Regions from separate parts of the Homo sapiens genome. Here regions 2, 3, 4 and 5 are each linked to region 1. The links are contacts of gene promoters, found by promoter capture Hi-C in human tissues and cell types (Jung and others, 2019). All regions are on one chromosome and are shown on one strand. Each heading gives the region's core, a stretch centred on a gene start or on the middle of the fragment in contact. The rest is flanking DNA. Distances are from core to core; before and after follow the strand shown. Region 1 holds the start of MOCOS (molybdenum cofactor sulfurase). Region 2 overlaps LOC105372064 (a long non-coding RNA gene). Region 3 overlaps FHOD3 (formin homology 2 domain containing 3). Region 4 has its middle 74 kb from the start of MIR187. Region 5 has its middle 31 kb from the start of MIR187.

The links. Contacts are between HindIII fragments. The study calls those that stand out against the background at their distance.
Region 2: a contact is called between a fragment that was not itself captured here and the fragment with the promoter of MOCOS in region 1, in 1 of the 25 tissues and cell types used here (heart right ventricle).
Region 3: a contact is called between a fragment that was not itself captured here and the fragment with the promoter of MOCOS in region 1, in 1 of the 25 tissues and cell types used here (aorta).
Region 4: a fragment that was not itself captured here is called in contact with the fragment with the promoter of MOCOS in region 1 in 1 of the 25 tissues and cell types used here (mesendoderm cells).
Region 5: a contact is called between a fragment that was not itself captured here and the fragment with the promoter of MOCOS in region 1, in 1 of the 25 tissues and cell types used here (spleen).

Annotation. Positions count from the first base shown.
Region 1 is chr18:36,186,159-36,188,848 of GRCh38, forward strand. MOCOS (molybdenum cofactor sulfurase) reads left to right here and starts at 1,339. Exons shown (of 15, transcript NM_017947.4): 1 at 1,339-1,523. The coding sequence starts at 1,382. COSMOC (cell fate and sterol metabolism associated divergent transcript of MOCOS) reads right to left here and starts at 1,277. Exons shown (of 2, transcript NR_134605.1): 1 at 1,077-1,277. RefSeq lists an enhancer at 1-383 and silencers at 1,143-1,406, 1,252-1,441. The HindIII fragment of the contact is 25,317 bases long and covers 1-2,690 here.
Region 2 is chr18:35,722,015-35,724,704 of GRCh38, forward strand. The region is part of intron 1 of LOC105372064 (a long non-coding RNA gene); the gene reads right to left. Among named protein-coding and RNA genes, the nearest start is that of MIR3975, 130 kb to the left of the region's middle. The HindIII fragment of the contact is 3,436 bases long and covers 1-2,690 here.
Region 3 is chr18:36,563,015-36,565,704 of GRCh38, forward strand. The region is part of intron 5 of FHOD3 (formin homology 2 domain containing 3); the gene reads left to right. Among named protein-coding and RNA genes, the nearest start is that of TPGS2, 260 kb to the right of the region's middle. The HindIII fragment of the contact is 5,121 bases long and covers 1-2,690 here.
Region 4 is chr18:35,829,198-35,831,887 of GRCh38, forward strand. No RefSeq gene overlaps it. Among named protein-coding and RNA genes, the nearest start is that of MIR187, 74 kb to the right of the region's middle. The HindIII fragment of the contact is 5,187 bases long and covers 1-2,690 here.
Region 5 is chr18:35,872,146-35,874,835 of GRCh38, forward strand. No RefSeq gene overlaps it. Among named protein-coding and RNA genes, the nearest start is that of MIR187, 31 kb to the right of the region's middle. The HindIII fragment of the contact is 4,153 bases long and covers 1-2,690 here.

The DNA of each region.
Region 1 (2,690 bases), core at 89-2,588:
GGGCTGCGTGCTGCCTTCCCATGGCTCTCACGCTGGGCACCGGTATGCATCATGCATCAGCAAGGATCCTAGGGCATCTGCGGCCCATACCCTGGGTGGCAGCTGGCCTGGATGCAGCACAGGTTGAGCTCTTGGGGCATAGGCCTCCTTCCCACCTTGTCCCCCCGCTGTATGCCTCCAGGGCCTGTGGGCCGCCTGCACCTGGTCGCCGGCCTTGGGTTCTCCACCGAGCCTGCCTCTGAGTTATCTCCCCTGAGCCCCAGCACCTGCCGCCCATCCGCACTGTCCACCATCCCTGACATTCGATTCCCCCACGAGGCACCTCGCCTGTGCGTGCAGTACCTGTTTTGCTTCCACCCCATTCCCAGCAGCGGGTTCCGCACCTGGGATCGCACGTGAGATTTCCCCCCACCCCCCAACCGCATGCCTGGGCTCTACTACCTGCACCTGCCGCCCCACCCCTGCATCCCGCTCCGCACTTCCCGCGCATAGGTTTGGCCAGGCCCTCCCTATTGAGGCACCTGTTCTCCAAGACAGAGCCGCTGTGTCCCAGGTGCTCTGGGTGCAGGCGCGAGTGGGGATTGAAGGAGGCGCTCTTATTCCACTCTGTCCGGGACAGGGGCGGCTTTGTCCTAGGGCACTCTTGCTTTAATAGAGAGGGCCCGGCCACACCCACGTGCGGGAAGTGCGGGGCGGGATGCAGGGTTGGGGAGGCAAGGGCAGGAAGTAGGGCCCAGGACGCGGTTGGGAGGGCGGGGAAGCTCAGCTCACTTGGATCCCAGCTGCAGGGCCCGCTCCGGGGGAAGCCCCCGAGCTTCCCGGTTCCGAAAGTGTGCAGCCACTGAGAATTTATTAGCCTCGTGGATCCCTAATCTTTCCCCTTTTCTACCCTTTGGTCAGCCGCATTCTAACAAACGGCAAGCACACGCCCCGCTGGGTAGCAGCAACCCGAGAACGCCCCCACCCCCGCCCCCGCCAGACGCCGGTTCCCGCTTGAGAGGGTGAGGGTCCCGAGACCCCTGCGAGGAGGAGGGTCGCGGGGTTCCAGGATGCCGATGCCAAGCAGGAAAGATCACCTCGTTGCTTCTTCCACCGGCCTCTCCGCGAGACATAGCTAAACTTGAACTTGGCATTCCAAGGGTCTGGAAACATCTTCGTGGGACCCATCGAGAGGTTGTTTAAAGACTGGCACCCGCTCCCGCGCCCAGGTGGGGAAAGGGCTGGCCAGAAGTGAAAGTCCGGTCGGGGCGCCACACCTAGGCTGCGGATTCCGAGAGACTGGGAGGCTGGAGGCCTGGGAGGCGTGGCGGGGGCGGAGTCGCCGGGGGCCGGCTTCGCGCACTTCCCGGGCCCGGCCGGCCTGGATGGACTAGCCGGGGCCATGGCCGGCGCGGCGGCGGAGTCAGGGCGGGAGCTGTGGACCTTCGCGGGTTCCCGGGACCCGAGCGCACCGCGGCTAGCCTACGGCTACGGCCCGGGCAGCCTGCGCGAGCTGCGGGCGCGCGAGTTCAGCCGCCTGGCAGGTGAGGCGGGCGGGCAGGCTTGGGGGACACGAGGTTTCTGGAACCGACGTGGACGGATCTTTTGCTCCTAGTGAGAGCGGCGCTACCTCATTCGGGCGCATTTTGAATCGAAACTCCAGGAGGGACGTGTCCACGCGTCCTCCTAGTAGACACGGCTCCCTGAGGTCCCACCTGCAGCCCCAAGGCTTCTTGCTACTCTTACTCTTCCGACTTTCCGGTGGGCAGGACCAACCTAGCCGTCTTCCCCTTTTCCCGCCCTCCGCGAGCGGGGCTTAGGATGGTTCTTGCCCTCTCTTGCGGGAGACCCCTCACTGTAAAGGGCCTGCTGGGGCCGGGGTTGCAAAAGACAGCATGTCCAGCGGCCGTGACCCTTCGGATGTCCTCCCGAGGTAGGAGCGGTGCGTGGACCGCCAGCGCCCGGGCTGGGACAGCACCTCTGACGGCGCGCCAGGTTGGGACCGGGAGGCCAAGGCCTCTTGGCCGGGGCCTCCCGAGGCTGCGCTCTGCAGACTCCTCTGGGATAGCCTGTATTCAGCTTTGATTTTCGAAACCTCATTTTCCTTACTCTTACAGCGTCAGAACAATCCCTCTGAGCTCCAGTTCTCTGGGGGACTAGAAGAATTAGCAAACAGTGCAATTTCACCTTTAAGAACAGGGCGAGCCTGTGAATTAGACAACACCAAGATCACATCGTGCCTTTCCTCAGAGCGGAACAGGCTGATGAAATTGCAAATCAAGCTCCATCTGGCCTTGGCCGACCCAGCCCTCTGCTGCCAGGGCCCAAGTTCGTGACTCATCCCTCTGCCAGGGACTTTGGGTGCAGGGCTTCATCAAGCCCCAGGGCCGCGTGCCGGATGGTCAAGGAGGGTGTGCAGGTGAAGTGGGCACGTCTTGGCACAGGGCACCGGGGTTTGAGTGTATCTGCTCTGTCGCGATGAACAACTGGTGACTGCTCCCCTTCTGGGGGCAGAACAGCAACCATGACTTAGGTTTCACTACTCGGGTAGCTGATTTCAGCGCTTCGGGTCACTTCCTGGTGTTGTGGAGGGTAACTGTGTTTTCCCTTTGGGGGCTGTGAGAACTGTGGCCTCCTCCTGTGTGTCTCCTCTGGCTTCCTAAGTAGGGAGAGTCAGGAGGGAGACGGGGGTGCCTTCTGCCAACCTCTCT
Region 2 (2,690 bases), core at 142-2,641, 460 kb before region 1:
TTCTGGGACGCTCATCAGGAGACCCTATTGAGGGTGGAGCTGGGCAGGTCCCACAGCTGACTGCTGGCAAAAAACCCAAGGCATGGGCACCCCACCAGCTGCATACCCACAACAACACTGCCCTGCCCACAGATGCCCCGCCCTTGACCTACTGCATCAACAGACCACCTACAGATATACCCCACAACCTGCTCTGACTCTGCCAAGCACAGAGGACCTTGGTGGGCCTCCAGAGAGCTGTGGGTCTCCTGGTGACCTAATCTTTGGCTTGGACCACCTCAAAGGGAGGGAGGAGCACAGCTCACCAGAGCCGCCTTTGAGGCTAAGGAAAGGCAGGCACGGCACCAGTGATTGGAGGGGGCTCCTTTAAGACCCAGGAATGGACTTGGTGAGGGGATCATCTCTCTCCCAACCCTGTCTGCCCCACGACAGAGCACTGCTGCCAATGCATTGAAATACACTGAGAGGCACATGGCTCAGCTAGAGTCTATCTACAAGCCCTTACTGTTTTTGTTCTTCTTCTTATTATTATACCTTTTAAGTTCCAGGGTACATGTGCACAACGTGCAGGTTTGTTACATATGTATACACGTGCCATGTTGTTGTGCTGCACCCATCAACTCGTCATTTACATTAGGCATTTCTCCTAATGCTATCCCCTCTTCCCCCCACCCCACGACAGGCCCCGGTGTGTGATGTTCCCCACCCTGGGTCCAAGTGTTCTCATTGTTCAATTCCCACCTATGAATGAGAACACTCAGTGTTTGATTTTCTGTCCTTGCGATAGTTTGCTCAGAATGATGGTTTCTAGCTTCATCCATGTCCCTACAAAGGACATGAACTCATCCTTTTTTATGGCTGCATATTATTCCATGGTGTATATGTGCCACGTTTTCTTAATCCAGTCTATCATTGATCGACATTTGGGTTGGTTCCAAGTCTTTGCTATTGTGAATAGTGCCACAATAAACATACGTGTGCATGTGTCTTTATAGCAGCATGATTTATGATCCTTTAGGTATATACCCAGTAATGGGATCGCTGGGTCAAATGGTATTTCTAGTTCTAGATCCTTGAGGAATCGCTACACTGTCTTCCACAATGATAGAACTAGTTTACAGTCCCACCAACAGTGTAAAAGTCTTCCTATTTCTCCACATCCTCCCCAGCACCTATTGTTTCCTGACTTTTAATGATCACCATTCTAACTGGTGTGAGATGGTATCTCATTGTGGTTTTGATTTGCATTTCTGTGATGGCCAGTGATGATGACCTTTTTTGTGTGTGTCTGTTGGCTGCATAAATGTCTTCTTTTGAGAAGTGTCTGTTCGTATACTTCACCCACTTTTTGATGGGGTTGATTTTTTCTTGTAAATTTGTATAAGTTCTTTGTAGATTCTGGATATTAGCCCTTTGTCAGATGGGTAGATTGCAAAAATTTTCTCCCATTCTGTAGGTTGCCTGTTCACTCTGATGGTAGTTTCTTTTGCTGTGCAGAAGCTCTTTAGTTTAATTAGATCCCATTTGTCTATTTTGGCTTTTGTTACCATTGCTTTTGGTGTTTTAGACATGAAGTCCTTGCCCATGCCTATGTCCTGAATGGTATTGCCTAGGTTTTCTTCTAGGGTTTTTATGGTTTTAGGTCTAACATTTAAGTATTTAATCCTTCTTGAATTAACTTTTGTATAAGGTGTAAAGAAGGGATCCAGTTTCAGCTTTCTACATATGGCTAGCCAGTTTTCCCAGCACCATTTATTAAATAGGGAATCATTTCCCCATTTCTTGTTTTTGTCAGGTTTGTCAAAGATCAGATGGTTGTAGATGTATGGTATTATTTCTGAGGGCTCTGTTCTGTTCCATTGGTCTATATCTCTGTTTTGGTACCAGTACCATGCTGTTTTGGTTACTGTAGCCTTGTAGTATAGTTTGAAGTCAGGTAACGTGATGCCTCCAGCTTTGTTCTTTTTGCTTAGGATTGTCTTGGCAATGTGGCCTTTTTTTGGTTCCATATGAACTTTAAAGTAGTTTTTTTTTCCAATTCTGTGAAGAAAGTCATTGGTAGCTTCCTGGGGATGTACAAGCCCTTACTCTTAAGCATAATCTACTGATTGCAGCCTGAATTACACCACCAAAAAATACTTCCTGCTTTCATTGCCTGTGAAACCCAGTGCAGTGTTCTAGCAACAAATAAAAATCCTGTGAAGAGCCTTGGCCCTCTAAAAGCATCCAGAAACAAAGCCAATCAACTATACTCAACTTACACTACAGTCAAACCCTCAAGGTAAATAAAGACCATAAAAAGCCCCATCCAAATCACAGCAACTTCAAAAGATAAAGGAACACCAGCCCTCACAGATGAGAGGGAACTAGCACAAGGACTCCGGCAATTCTAAAAGCCAGAGTGTTTTCTTACCTCCAAACAATTGCACAAGCTCCCCAGAAGTGGCTGTTAACCAGATTGAAATGGCTGAAATGACAGACATAGAATTCAGAATCTAGATAGCAAGGAAGCTAAAAAAAAAAAAAGAGAGAAAGTTGAAGCTAAAAAAAAAAAAAGAAATAAAAAAGAAAAAAACAGGAGAAAGTTGAAACCCAATCCAAGGAGAACAGTAAAATAATACAAGAGTTGAAAGATGGTATAACCTTTTTAAGAAAGAACCAAAACTGAACTCCAGGAACTGAAAAATTGA
Region 3 (2,690 bases), core at 99-2,598, 380 kb after region 1:
GTGGCCTTTGCATGGGCTCAGCAACGAGTCCCCTCAGGTACGTGCTTCTAGACACAGAGTCTTCATGGTTGGTGAAATTTTAGTAAGGAAGTTGAGTAAATTGAGGGTTTTTAAAGTTAAAATTCTAAAAGTGTTGAAATCCTAAATAGAGAGAAGTACAGAATTAATATACTAGCATGTACTCTTAATTGTTTTACATAACATCCAAAAACCTATTTCTGATTTTTACAGAGGACTGATTTTTGAAGGGTTGTATATTAATAAGGCACATTTGTGGAATCATGTCTGAAACCTCAGACTGCAGATAGAAATACCTAGTGAAAGCTTGCTCCCTAGTGCCAGACACTTCATAATACACCCCCGCAGGGGCTTTCGAGTAATGTTACCTTGGAACTGGGAGTTTTGGAGGTCTTTGGGTTAAACCCTTGTGTCTCTCAGATGATACCATTGAAGTCCAGAGAGGTTAATTAGCATAACAGCATCAAGAACAGCCAACCATCAGCCACGTGCTGTGCTAATACATCAGCATATTTCATCCTAACCATACAGGATCCAGGTTGGACTTGTCTTCCATCTTATGACTGCGTAAGCTCCATAGTTTTTGGAAGTAAGAAATGGTGGAGATTACATGCAAACCAGCTTCTCCGTGGGTTTAAGTCCCGTGAGTTTTCTTGATGCGGTACTGTCTTAGAAGCAAAAATCAGGGGAACTATTCTGGTATCTTTTCTTTTCTCATGCCCTGGAAACTCATGTGTCTTCTCCCAGCTACATGTGCCCCATCCTTTAAGGTATGTTTCTTGTCAGCCTCTCCATGAATCCTCCTCTAATTACTCAGGCTCATATCAGCTGCACCCTTCTCTGAATCTGGGTGTTTATGAGCTCCATTCCACTCTGCTTGGGCTTAATTACTCGTCTCTACACCTTGTGTTCATTGTCTCTGTCACCTGGTAAGCAGGGATGTCAGTCAGGGACAGATGCCCTAAGTGTATGTGTCCTGCATGGGCCGTCACTAAGCTAGGAGGAGCTGCTTTTCCCGGGTTCATTGGCCAAGCCCTTGTCACTGACTCGGTGTCACCCCAGGTGACACCCCAGGTGAACACATGAGCGCGAATGAGACAGTCCAGCCACTGCTGACCCTGCTGCAGAGTCCATTTCTGGTTCATTCCACCTGTGGCTGTGACCTGTTTTGGAGAGGCTGTGTGCTTCCACTGGTATTTCATTGGATGTAAGTCTTAGAAGATCATTATAGAATAGATCATTAAAATGACTGTTTTACTTTCCATAGAGAACCTAGAAGTCTGCCAAAAATTTTTAGAGGTTCAAAACTTGCTAATCTGTTATACTTTCCTTCATTCCTTTGGTGTCTCCTTATCTAAAATATGGGGGACTGTAGAACGGGAAAGACTGGGAGAGGGTGAGGAGCATAGGTGTAACTGAGGCTGCTACAGCCCAGCAGTAATGAAGCACCTGTTTCTGTACAGGTGGCTGATGAGGGCTCCTTTTAAATCTTTAGCATGGGAATCTTGGATATAAACTTTGCTGCTGTTGGGAAGATGAATGAATAGGCCAGAAACAAACCAGTCTTCTGTGTGTATTAGATGGGAGAAGATGCAGAGAGCTTAGCTACATAATGTCCTGCTGGGAAGAAAGGTCTATCAGAAAGAAGCACATCAGTGTCAGTGTTTCTGTTTGGAAGGCCTGGGGAGGAGGGAGGGGAGACGGGCCCTCCCTCCTTTGAGAGTTACTAAGAGTTAAGCTTGTAAGTGTTAGGGGAGAATATTAGGTCTGATTTTTTTAACAACTTTTTTGGGGGACCTTTTTTAGAAAATGGTCATTCTAAGGTAGAGAGAGGGTAGTAATTTAAGACTGCTTTAGAAAAATTTGCATTGCAAATGCTGCTAAATGTCAGCAAGGGACTCAAAACTTTGACACCTTGTTGGAGCTCTTTGTGCTGATTAAATTCTTGTCTCCAGCCTAGAATTGGCAGCTTATTCTCCTTAATTTTCATGCTGTAATAGGTATTGAAAGAGTATTTCTTTGACAGTTGCCCTTGGGGAAAACTGGACCGGAGCTTGTTATTTAGGGCAGACAATTAAGTGGAAAAGAATAATAACTAGACTCCAAGGTCTTCATTTAGTTCCAAGAATGTCAACAATATCAACCTCTTTTTAATACTTACTGCGGGCTCTGGTGAATAATGGAAATTAGGGGTAGACAAATCCAGTTCAGAGTTAAGAAGAATGAATTTTAATGGTCTGATTAAAATTAATTGAAATCCCTTCTTTAAGATGAATTAGCCCTTCCCAGAAGATAAGGGGTGAGTGATACTAATAGTTTTGTTTTGTTTTTCTCTCTGGAGATTACTTTGATTTAAAAACTCACTGCACATTTTCAGAGCTCCTGTGTTCTAATTGAAGAAAGCAGTGCCTATCTTGGTGCTTAGTGATGGGCTCATGGAAGAACTGATTGTACCCTACAGTATCCCCATCTTCATTCCCAATGTGCAAATCACAGATCATTCCTCCCAAAACAAAATAAAACCTAGTTACCACTGATACTTGCTTATAGCAGAATGTTGCCCTGTGGTAAGTTTCTTTAATGTTTCATACCATTCATTTATTTTTTTTTCTGTACTTTTGGTAGAAATAAATAGGAATTATTTCCAGTCACATTCTCAAATGGCAAAATAT
Region 4 (2,690 bases), core at 121-2,620, 360 kb before region 1:
TTCACACAGAGTGGGCTGTATGAGAGACTGGAGTTTTATTATTACCCAAATCAGTCTCCCTAAGCATTCAGGGATCAGAGTTTTTAAGCATAATTTGGTAGGTGGGAGGCCATTGAGTTGGGAGTGCTGATTGGTTGGGTCAGAGATGAAATCATAGAGAGCAGAAGCTGTCCTCTTGCACCGAGTCAGTTCCTGGGTGGGGGCCACAAGACCAGATGAACCAGTTTATTGGTCTGGATGGTGCCAGCTGATTCATCCAGTGCAGGGGCTGCAAAATATCTCAAGGACTGATCTTAGGTTTTATAAGAGTGATATTATCCTCAGAAGCAATTTGGGGTGGGTCAGAATATTATAGCCTCCAGCTGCATGACTCCTAAATCGTAATTTCTAATCTTGTGGCTAATTTGTTAGTCCTACAAAGGCAGTCTAGTCCCCAGGCAGGAAGGGGTTTGTTTTGTCAAAGGGCTATTATCATCTTTGTTTCAAAGTTAAACTATAAACTGATTCTCCCAAAGTTAGTTCAGCCTGTGCCCAGGAATGAACAAGGACAGCTTAGAGTTTAGAAGCAAGATGGAGTTGATTAGGTCAGATCTTTTTCACTGTAATAATTTTCTCAGTTATAATTTTGCAATGACAGTTTCATTCCAAAAGTGTGAGGTCCCAAAACTAAAGCAAAAGATTACTGTGTGCCCCTTTAAACTCACAGGGGAGCATTGCTTAACATGGCTAGGGGGCAGTTGTTATCTAGAGAAACCTGGTTTGACATATTATTGTGTCAACCTAAATAACAGAGAGAGACTCTCTAAAAGCAAATGATACTTATTCAGGAATATAGCATTGCAATGCAACTATATGTGCCATAGTAAACTGTGTATTCAGGTAAGTAAAGGAAGACAAAGGTTTTTAATGGAAAATGAGAAGTGTAACTGGTGTTGACAGAAAGAGTCAAACTTTGTAAAATGTTTAAAGAGGTTTATTCTGAGCCAAGTATGAGTGCCTAAGGCCCAAGACACAGTCTCAAGAGGTCCTGAGATTGAAACCACCCTTGCAAAAACTGTAACTGAGGAAATTATGACAATGAAAGACATCAGACCTAACCAACTCCATCTTGCTTCTAACTTTTAAGCTGTCCTTGTTTATTCCTGGGCATAGGCCAAACTAAGCTTGGGAAAGAATTTAGTTTACGGTTTGACTCTGAAAAAAAAAAATTGTTAATAGCCCTTTCCTGAAAAGACCCCCTTCTTACCTGGGGACCAGTCTGCCTTTGCAGGACCAGCAAATTAGCTACAAGATTAGAAAGTACTGCCAGGCGCAGTGGCTCATGCCTGTAATCCCAGCACTTTGTGAGGCTGAGGTGGGAGGATCACTTCAGGTCAGGAGTTTGAGGTCAGCCTGGCCAACATGGTGAAACCCTGACTCTACCAAAAAAAAAAAAAGTTAGCTGGACATGGTGGTATGCACCTGTAGTCCCCAGCTATCAGGAGGCTGAGGCAGGAGAATTGCTTGAACCTGGGAGGCAGAGGGTACAGTGAGCCAAGATTGCACCACTGCATTCCAGCCTGGGTGACAGAGCAAGACTCAGTCTCAAAAAAGAAAAAGAAAGGAAAGAGAGAGAGAGAGAGAAAGGGAGAAAGGGAGACAGAGAGAGAGAGAGAGAGAAAGAAGGAGGGAGAGAAAGGGAGAGAGAGAGAGAGAAAAAGAGAAAGAGAGAGAGAGAGAAAGAGAAAGAGAACAAAAGAAGGAAGGAAGGAAGGAAATAAATTACAGTTTAGGGGTTATGCAGCCTCTTGCTGCAAGAGTCTGAAGCTCCCCAAATTGCTCCTGGGGATAACATTACTATTGCAAAACCTAAGATCAGTGTTTGATCTGCAGACCCTGAATTTGATGGATTAGCTGACACCACCCAGACCAGTAATCTGAATCAGTCAGTTCTGTGATCCCACCCAGGAACAGAAGACGGAAAGAAAATGTCACTTAGACCCCCCTATGATTCCATCTCCAACCTACCCAATCAGCACTCCCTACTTCCCAAGCTGCTTCCCACCAAATTATCTTTAAAAACTGCAATCCTCAAATGCTTGGGGAGACTGATTTGAGTAGTAATATAACTTTGGTCTCCTGCACAGCCAGCTCTGCATGAATTACTCTTTCTCCATTGTCCAGGCAGCAGGCAAGGTGAATCCATTGTATGGTTAGAAGAACATGTGCCTAAGGTGGCTGGGTTTTAGTTTGGCTTTATACATTTTAGGAAGACATAAGACATCAGTCAGTACATGTGAAGTATATATTGATTTTGTGCAGAAAGGTGGGACAACTTGAAGCAGGGGGCTTTCAGGTCATAGGTGGATTCAAGGATTTTCTCATTAGCAATTGCTTAAGAGAATTAAGTTATTATCTAAAGACTTAGAATCAATGGAAAGGGGTGTCTGGGTTAAGATAAGGAGTTGCAGAGATCAAGGTTCTTATTATGTAGATAAAGTTTCATGGGTGTCTCATAGATGTCTCTAAGGGAGTGCCTTAGAGATAATAGATGGCACGTTTTTCCTATTCAGACCTTTAAAAGGTGCTAGATGCTCAGTTAATCTCTTCAGGACTGGGAGAGCCTAGAATAGGAAAGATCTAGTTGTGTTAATATAGATTCTTTACAGATGCAAGTTTCCCCCTACAAAAGATAGCTTTTCAGGGCCATT
Region 5 (2,690 bases), core at 95-2,594, 310 kb before region 1:
AATAGTAGTGAAGATAGTGGTCCTTCTTGCCTCAATCCTGACTGTATTGAAAATACCACTAGTGTTTCTCCATTAATGAAATTATTGATTAATTCTTATTTCCTTGCAGATTTTCACTGGAAATCTTGTCAAATACCTTTTTCAGCATCCATGGAGAACATAGATGATTTTCCATTATTATAACTATTAATTTGGTGTGTGTATTTATGGATTTCCTAACATTGAACCAACCTTGCCTAACATCGAACCAACTTTGTTATTTATTCCTAAAATAAATTCCACTTTGTCATGATGTATTATATTCTTAACTTGGTGTGAGGTTCCTTTTGATATTTTATTTCATATTTTTGCATAGATATTCATAAATGATATTGTGAGAGGAAAGAAAAAGAAATCAACTAGTCAGATAGTTAGGGCAAGGGTCCTCAGTAGAGTTCCCTTCTAACAAAAAGCAGCTTCTCTTCTAACAAAAAGCAGCCCAAGAGGTCATTTCTCTTTCAGCAAAGAGAAGCCCGAGAAATCAGGCTGCAAACACAGATAAGGAAGGCAAGCTCTAATACATAAAGGGGCCTCCTGTGTGACATATGGACATACAGTGGGTCCAGTAAGCACATCCTCTCCCTTCTTGGAAATGCTAAGACAAGGAGGCTTGCACAGGGGAAGGAGACTAGTAGGGGGGATGCCCCCACTGTGTTTCTCTCCACCTGGGTCACTCCAAAACAGGGGAGAAGACTAAGGGATGCCTTTCCTTCCCCTCCCCTTCTTTCTAGGTGGGTAACAAATCATCTTCAGCCTGCTCTCCTCTTGAGTGCATTCTGAATCACTGGAACTCTTTGACCCCGGGACTGAAGAAAAAGTGGTCATATTCTTTTGCACAAGGGTGTGGCCTTCTTACCAGCTTGGGGATGGACGAACCTGGCTTTCTGAGGGAAGTCTTTATTTTAATACTATCCAACAATTAATCTTTTCTGTGGACGAGAGGGCAAATGGTCTGGGGTCCCCTATGTACAGGTTTTCTTTGCCCTGCAGGACAACTCAGACCTCTGCAAGTGATACACAATTGACCCAGTTCTTTTAGCAGTCATATCAGGCAGACCCATGGGGAATAACTCCCCAAAGCTAAGAAAACTAATTCCTGGAAAATCCTCTGAAACAACTACTAAGTGTCTCAGTCCCTCTTGTCCCCCTTATCTGGGGCCCCCTCCTCCAACTGTGCCATCAGCTCCTCCAGTTCCACCACTTCCAAAACTCCCTACTTCCCCAGCTTCACTTTAACCCCTGCAAGAAATGCCTGATGGACATTGTGCCACAAGGGTGCAGGTTCCCTTCTCATTGCAGAACCTTAGACAAATAAAAGTAGACCTGGGTAGATTCTCTGATGACCCCAACAGATATATAGAGGCTTTCCAAAATCTAGACCAAGTGTTTGACCTCACATGGAGAGATGTTATGTTACTCTTAAACCAAACCCTAACAGCTGCTGAGAGGCAGGCAGCTCTGCAGACAGTAGAAAAATGTGGGGATGCACAACATATTTCTTACAGCAGGCCAAAAAGGAAAAGAGGAAATAAGGAAGGAGAGGAAATTATGGAACAACCATTCCCAATAGGGAGAGAGGCAATACTACTTGAAAACCTTGGCTGGGACCCTAGTGCCCCCACTGATGAACTGAAAATGAAACACTTTTTAATATGCATATTGGAGGGCCTACAAAAAAACTAGGGCCAAACCTTTTAATTACTCTAAGCTCTCCATGATAGATTAGAGACCAGATGTGAATCCCTCAGCTTTTACGGAAAGACTGAGAGAGGCCTTAATAAAACAGAATTCCCTGTCTGTTGACTCAGTTGAAGGACAGCTAATCCTAAAGGACAAGTTTATTACTCAGGCAGCACCTGATATTAGAAGAAAATTACAGAAACAGGCTATAGGACCAGATAGTACTCTGGAGAACCTCCTGAGGGTGGCCACCTTGGTCTTTTACGATAGGTATCAGGAGGAGGCCCAGGAATAAAGAGAGGAAGCACAGGAGAAGGACAGAGGCTCTGATAGCCACTTTACAGGCCTGTAAAGTCCAGGATCCATGAGGTGCACCCACTAATTGCTATCGGTGTGCCAAATCAGGGAACTTTAAGAAGGGCTGTCTAGGCAGAAAGAATAAGCCACCTCGACCCTGTCCAGTGGGGACTACTGGAGGTCAGACTGCCCTCAGAGACATAGGTCACTGGGTCAAGAACTGGTCTCACAAATGGTCTGGCAAGCCTGACAGGTCCTGGGGCTCAATTTCCCGGCTCCAGTGGCCCAAACTGCCATTACTGCCCAGGAGTCCCAGGTGATTCTAGAAATGGAAGGAAGGAGGGTGGACCTCCTTCTGGATGCTGGAGCCAGTCTATCTGTTCTCTCCAGTCCAGGCCTCCCCTCTTCCCATAGCATGACCATAAAGGGCATCTCAGGAAAGGTTCTAACCCAATATTTTTCTCAATCCTTTAGTTGTAGCTAGGGGAACCTACTATTTACACATGACTTTTTAATCATGCCTGGAAGTCCCACTCCCTTACTAGGTAGAGATATTTTAGCTTTCATGGGAGCCAGTATCCTTACGACCCTAAGACAAACTCTTTGTCTTCTCGTGGTGGAAACCAATATTAGCCCAGGGGTGTGGGCAAGCCAGGGGAAAATCAGCCAGGCTA